Linked DNA regions of Homo sapiens: region 2 is linked to region 1. Evidence: promoter capture Hi-C in human tissues and cell types (Jung and others, 2019). All regions are on one chromosome and are shown on one strand. The core of a region is centred on a gene start or on the middle of the fragment in contact, and the rest is flanking DNA. Distances in the headings are between cores, read along the strand shown. Region 1 holds the start of PODXL (podocalyxin like). Region 2 has its middle 61 kb from the start of PODXL.

What was found. The method cuts DNA at HindIII sites, captures the fragments that hold promoters and counts their contacts. A contact is called where the count stands out against the background at its distance.
Region 2: a contact is called between a fragment that was not itself captured here and the fragment with the promoter of PODXL in region 1, in 8 of the 25 tissues and cell types used here (H1 embryonic stem cells, IMR-90 fibroblasts, dorsolateral prefrontal cortex and 5 more).

The regions. Positions count from the first base shown.
Region 1 is chr7:131,554,809-131,558,253 of GRCh38, forward strand. PODXL (podocalyxin like) reads right to left here and starts at 1,820. Exons shown (of 9, transcript NM_001018111.3): 1 at 1,452-1,820. The coding sequence starts at 1,551. RefSeq lists silencers at 1,441-1,950, 2,031-2,090, 2,121-2,240 and an enhancer at 2,208-2,755. The HindIII fragment of the contact is 6,040 bases long and covers 1-3,445 here.
Region 2 is chr7:131,616,305-131,619,749 of GRCh38, forward strand. No RefSeq gene overlaps it. Among named protein-coding and RNA genes, the nearest start is that of PODXL, 61 kb to the left of the region's middle. The HindIII fragment of the contact is 5,865 bases long and covers 1-3,445 here.

The DNA.
Region 1 (3,445 bases), core at 570-3,069:
TATGAAGGCCCACCCTGAAGTCCAGCTGTCCCCAGAGTAGGGCTAAGGAGCCACCATACTCTCGTGTCATCTCAACCCTGCATGTCGTGTGGCTCTTCAGTGATTGCCACTCTGAAAGCTGTTCTGACTGTTCCTCACACTGCAGCCCCTCTTCCAGGGACACACATTCTTCCCCCCGCCGGGACCTTCCCTTTCTAGTCAGGCTGGTGGAGTCTCCCGCCGGCCACAGGAGGATGCCCACGCCTGCCTGCTCCCTGAGTGCCAGCGCCTGCCCACTACCAAAGGTTTCCTGCGGTGCAGAGGAGAGACTGTACTGCCCTTCCATCTCCCCTGGCCCCTTAGAGTCCAGTCCCAAACTGCCGGCACCTGCTCACAGCAGAATCCCTACCCTGTCTGTGCTGTCCCCGCAGTCCTCCTGGCCCTAGGGTGATCACACCACCTCAGCTCTTCCTGCAGACATGTGCTCAGGTGGGCAAAAGAGAATGAGAAATGCACCTCTCCCGTGGGGCTGAGCTGACTCTGGCTGTTCCCTAGGGGCTTAAGAACACCTGTTCTGGTTGAGTTTGCAGCCATCGCCTGTCCCCCAAAAGGGAAAGAGTAACATTTCACCTTGAAAAGAAACAGGGAGGGGATGTTTCTGAGGTGCAGGTGTTTCATGAGAGACAGGTACATTTTCTAAGGTGTGTCTAAAATGCAGCCCAATCCTATTCTACGAGAGAGAAGTTCCCGTTTGAACAAGTTCCCGTTTGAACAAGAGGATTCGAGGGGGGTCTCACCATCGTAGCCACGCACTAAGAAGCGATTGTTTTAGGGACACGGAGGTAGGACCCCCACTCAGCCAGGTGACTCTGGGACTGTGGAAGGTCCACTTACGACTCTGTACCTGCCCCAGCACGGGCTCAAGGAGTTGAGCCTGCACACATTACTTAGAAAAAACCTCTGCAAACGGGTAAGTACATCGCCCGCGTGGGCCGTGGCTGGAGGCTTGTCACCTGCTTCAGGGACTTCCTCGGGAGCCTCTCGCCTGCCTCTTTGCCTGGAATTAACGAATACACACTACAGCCCCTCATTCCCTCCAACACGAAGGAAAGGTGTAATCAGATCCCGAGAGTCCCGCAGAAGCGTGGAGCCTCGCGGTGCGGTCTCCCTTTTCTTTCCCATGCAAACCCACTTAGCACCGGCGCGCCCCTGTTTGCCCGGGCAGAATCCACCGCCCACTCCTCCCGAGTGGAGAGTGGAGACGAATCTACGCCCAGGCCCTGCACCTGCCGCGCTGCGGAGTTTGGAGGGGGCGTGGATGGTGCAAGGTCAGGGCTCCGTGTGTGACCCCGGCGGTGATAGGGCTGCTCGGGGTCGGACCACGCGGCGCGCCGGGCTTCCCTGCAGCTCGGCCGGGCAGGGGGCACATGGGCACGGTGGGAGTCCCGGCGGAACCCAGGCCGGCCACTCACCATTCTGGGAGGGCGACGGCGACGGCGACGGCGACGACGGCAGCAGCGGCGGCGTTGACAACAGTAGCAGCAGCGCCGAGAGCGCCAGCGCGCAGCGCATCGTGTCGTCGCCTCTGGGCCGGGAGCAGGTGGCTGCGGTGCCGGCGGAGGATCCGCGCGTCCGGGCGGTAGGAGCGTGGGCGCCGCCCGGGGAGGCCTGTGGGTGGCTCCGGAGGCCAGGCTGTGGCCCGGGGCTCCCGAGTCGCGCTGCGGCGGCTCTTCCTCCCTGCCGCTGCAGCAGAGCCGGGCTGGGGCGCAGAGCCAGTGGCAGAGGAGCGGCGGCGGCGGCGGCTGCGTCCTGGGCGGCGTCTGCGCGGCTGCGGCCCCACTGGCGGCTGCGGCTACTCCTGGCCCGTCCCGTCAGCGCCGGCCCCCGCCCCCGCCCCCGCCCCTCCCCCTCCCCCAGGAGCCCGCCAGCGGCGGCGGCCGGGCCGGGCGGGGCCGGGGCCGGGGCTGGGCGGGCGCTGGGCCGTGAACAATGAGCAGAGGAGGAAACTCCGCCCTGGAGCGCGACGGGCGGGAGGGCCGGCGGCCTCCGCGCCTTGGGGGGCTGTGTGTGCGCGGGGGCCAGGGCGGGGGGCTCCTGCGGTGCAGCCGGGCCCCGTCCACAGGTGTCCCGAACAGGTGTGTCCCCCCGAGTGCTTCTAAGTGGGCCCGGCGGGATCCCCCAGCACACCGCCGGGGCCCTCGCACTACGAGCAAATCCGGAGCGGGCGGACCCCCAGCCTTGCGTGGTAACTGATAACCATTCACGGCCTCCCGGGCTGCTGCGCGTTCTGCAGCGACCCCGGAGAAGCTCATCTCCCACCTGCCAAGTGCAATTCACCTGCCTGTGGGGCCCCCATCCCGCACGGCTTCTGAGCGGGGTCTCTCTGCAGCTAGGTGTGCAGCGGGCAAGCTGGACTAATTCACTCCTTCACCTCTCCAAGGGTAGGTTCCTTACCTGTGAAATGGAGATGATGGTTAAAAAACAACAGCAACAACAATTTCAGGGATGAATGTGTGCCAGGCTTTACATATATTAATTCTTTTACTCTTCATGACAACCATATTTTTAGCCTCATTTTGCAGACAGGGCAATTGAGTCAAAAAGAGGTTAAGAAACTTCCTGAGGCCACATAACGGGTAAGTGGCAAACCTGCCTCTGAGAGAAGTTTGGAGAAATACCGTGCACCGTGCCTGGAATATAGTAATTGCTCTGCAAGGAGTGGTTATTACTCTTATTCCTGCTATATAAAGAACAGCTATAAAGATTAGGGCTTTTGGGTCAAAACAGGCTGGGGCTCAAAACCTAACTGTGCCAATCTATTAATTGTAAAACCCTAGGCAAGCTATTCTCAGTACCTCATTTCTTTTTATCTGTAAAATAGGGATAATAACACCTACCTCAGGGGGTTGTTGGGAAACTTAAATGTGATCTTACAAGATAATACTTAGCCTAGGGCCAGGAACACAAAAGTCTCAATGAATGAAGTAGTTCGCCCTCCAAGTGAGGATCAGAGATATTTGCACACTGGGGGTGGGAGTGGGTGTTGGAGAATTCCGTAAACTGAGTTTATCCGGTGAAAGAACAAAGAAGTTCCTTTCCCCTCCCCCGCTCCCCTCCTTTTTTCCACCCCCAAAGCTGCCTGGGAGACGCAGACCCCAGGCCCGCCTGAAGAGGAGGCACATCGGCGGAGCCGGGAAGCGGAGGGGGCGAGGGGTGATTAACCTTGGAACCCGGGTACGGCGTAAATTTGGCTCACGTGACTCCGGGGTTGCTAATCTGGAGTCTATCTGCCAGATGGGGCTGGGTGGAGGGGTTTTCTCCAGGATCTAGCCGCGTCCCGGGCACAGGGGACTCCGTGAGCCCCTCAAGTCGGCTGCAAGCAGGCGATGCCTGCAGGGCACTGCGTCCCTGGAGCCGCGAAGGAAGCGCTGGAGCCCTGGCTGGGGTTCCGTGGCAGCCGGCCTCA
Region 2 (3,445 bases), core at 572-3,071, 61 kb after region 1:
TTTTTGAAGACGTGGGGTCTTTCTATGTTGCTCAAGCTGGTCTCTCGAACTCCTGGCCTCAAGCAATCCTCTTGCCTAGGCCTCCAAAAGTGTTGGGATTACAGGTGTGAACCACTGCACCCAGCCAATATTTAATTGTTTTGTTTTACTATCAGATATGGTAAATATCAGTATATGAAATCCAACTATTTAGTGTCTTCAATATTTAAGAATGCAAAGGAAGCCAGGCCTGATGGCTCATCCCTGTAATCCCAGCTACTTGGGAGCTGAGGTGGGAGGATTGCTTGGGGCAACCAGTTTGAGACAAGCCTGGGCAACATAGCAAGACCCTACCTCAAAAAGATAATAATAATTAGCTGAGCATGGTGGCACATGGTGTAGTCTCAGCTACTTGAGAGGCAAAGGCCAGAGGACCTCTTGAGCCCAGGAGTTTGAGGCTACAGTGAGCTGTGATTGCACCACTGCACCTCGAGCTTGGGCAACAGAGCAAGACCCTGTCTCTGAGAAAAAAAAGAAAGAAAGAAAAAGATGTAAAGGAGCTCCGACACCAAGAAGTTTAAGGGCCACTGCAATGCAGGGAACATAATGCAGATAGCTGGATCCAAGGTTCTTGGAATTGCAGAAAGGTCAGAGGGCAGTGAGGAAGCGGAAGCCAGAGGGTAGCTGCATGGGGAAGCTGCCACTGCCCTCACGACTGGAAGAGCGGAGGAGGAGGAGGTGGTATTCTGATGATCATGAGCAGGAACTGACCTCAGGAGCTGGCATCATAAAGAAGGGACATGTGGCAGGACGAGAGCCCAGAGTCAGGGATACCTGGTGGGAAGCAGAAGCATGGCAGGGGCTGCCGGGTGGGAGGCGGAAATGTGAAGGAGATGCAGGTCCTGCTGGAGACCCCACCCACAGAGAGAGAAGGGGGAGAAATGCCCTTCTTGCTTGCTGTCTCCTGTTCCCCCATTTCATGGGATGACCCTGTCTGCTGTTTGGAAGCTTGTTTGCCGCAGAACTTGGGGAACAGAGCTTGCAGGAGTCAGCCCCACAGCAGTTCAGAACAGAGGAGAGCAGGAGAGGGTTAAGAATGCACCTGAGAGCAACAGGCGCACACCTGGCATAGAAAAGGAGGAGAGAACCAGGAGCTTGGCTTGAGGGAGCCACAGGAGTGAGAAGAGGATGTTCATGATGGGAGTATCTTGCACTGCAGTGGAGGCAGAGAGCCAATATAGAGGAAGACAGAGGTAAACCCAGTTCGGGTGGGCCTGGGACAGAAGGGAGGGGATGGTGGACTCTAGGCAGAATGGTTGGCCTTAGAGACAGTGGCCACTGGATCTACAGTTCCCATATGAAAAAGCTTGTTGGTGGCCAGGCACAGTGGCTCACGCCTGTAATCCCAGCACTTTGGGAGGTCAAGGTGGGCGGATCATGAGGTCAGGAGATCAAGACCATCCTGGCCAACATGGTGAAACTCTATCTCTATTAAAATACAAAAAATTAGTCGGGTGTGGTGGTGTGTGCCTGTAGTCCCAGCTACTCAGGAGGCTGAGGCAGGGAAATCGCTTGAATCTGGGAGGCAAAGGTTGCAGCGAGCCGAGATCGCGCCATTGCACTCCAGCCTGGCTACAGAGCAAGACTTCGTCTCAAAAAAAAAAAAAAAAAAAAAAGGAAAAGGCTTGTTGATCTAGCTGATTGGAACTGGAAATATAATAGGAAGCTTGTTTAGAAAAGCCGGGCGCAGTGGCTCATGCTTGTAGTCCCAGCACTTTGGGAGGCTGAGGCAGATGGATCACCTGAGATCGGGAGTTTGAGACCAGCCTGACCAACATGGAGAAACCCCATCTCTACTAAAAATACAAAATTAGCCAGGCGTGGTGGAGCATGCCTGCAATCCCAGCTACTCGGGAGGCTGAGGCAGGAGGATCGCTGGAACCCAGGAGGCAGAGGTTGCAGTGAAACGAGATCACACAATTGCACTCCAGCCTGGGCAACAAGAGCAAAACTCTGTCTTAAAAAAAAAAAAAAAAAAAAAAAAAAAAAAAAGAAATCGTTTGCATGCTTCTCTCGCTTAGGGTCTGTTTACTTGGGGAAATTTTTGGATATTGGGCATGGAAAGGCTAAAGCCATCTATCCCTAGGCTACTAATTTTTAAGTCTCTATCTGTAGTCTAGACTCCTCTCACATTCAACTATCTGCTAAAGATCTAAAGATCTCCACGCGGACGACAGGGTGTCCGTGCTCTTCCTCATGGCTTGGGTGACTCTGATTCACTCTTCCGGTCTTATCTGAAATGGGCTTCTTCCAGGAATCTGTCCCTGGCTCCTAGACTAGATTCCCATAGCTCTGGCTTTCTTGTCACTGGTTGTTTAATGTCCCTCCCTTCCCACTGGAAGTGTCCTGGAGCAGTACTTGGGATGAGGTAGGTACTTACTGCTTATTTGATGAGTGACTAATGACTGATTGTTATAAGGAGATGTGGAATTTTGGGATGTACCTCTAGGCTTACCTTGAGCCACTCTCCCCCGCCCCCCCACCCCGCTGCCTCCATAATCCCAGGGTGCCAGAGAAGAGAACCGAGCTGGGCACCTTTCCTTCCCTTGTGTACAGTTCAGAGAAGAGGAAGGAGCTTCAGGTTTAATCTGGCTATCATGTAGTGTCTGGGAGGTCTGCGTAAGCCACATCACATTCTCAGTTTCCATCTTGTCATGTCTCTGAAACGGAGACAGTAAAACCTGCCCTCTCCACCTCTTAAGGTTGCCAAGGTGAGAGTTACTGGTAAGATAGCACCAAAATACAAACTCAAATTCAGAGGAGCAATCCTCCCTGGCTTTAAGCACTGGGTGGCCCCTGATATCACCAGCCCAGTTGTTTATCTTCTCTGGAGAGGAAATGTTAACTGGAAGGTCTTCAAGGGAGACAGCTCTTTGGCTGTGGAGCTGGCCCATGTCTCACCCTCCAGCCATGGAGGGAGCCCAGACCATCCTCCTTCACCTCCCTCAGTGGGTACTCAACTCAGGTTCCCGCATGGGCAGCTGATGTGGAGAGTGAAATGGGCAAGACCCAGGAGTTCTGATTCCCCCATCTTTCTGGTACCATACAGGCTCTCCTTCTGGCAAGGACAAAAGAAAGAGGTTAGTCCTGAGGAGAGAGGAGCCTTCCAGAAGTGTCCCTTCCTGGAAGACTCAGCAGAGGCCCAGGCTTAGCTCTGGGATAAAAGGATTAAAAGCACGGCTCAGCCCTCCAAGGGCAAGGGGTGGAATGGCTGCCCCTGGGAGAGTAAACATGGAGGCTTGTTGGGGACAGGACAGGGGGGCAGGTGGGTGACTCTGTGCTACTCTTGCTGGCACTTCCTCCCCTGGCACTGCTGAGGCAGGTCTGTCAGGCACTGAGGAGGTGTTTCCTAGCTCCAGGCACTGGGCTTGACTCACTGGGCAGTGGGAGGCAGATGCCAGGCGAA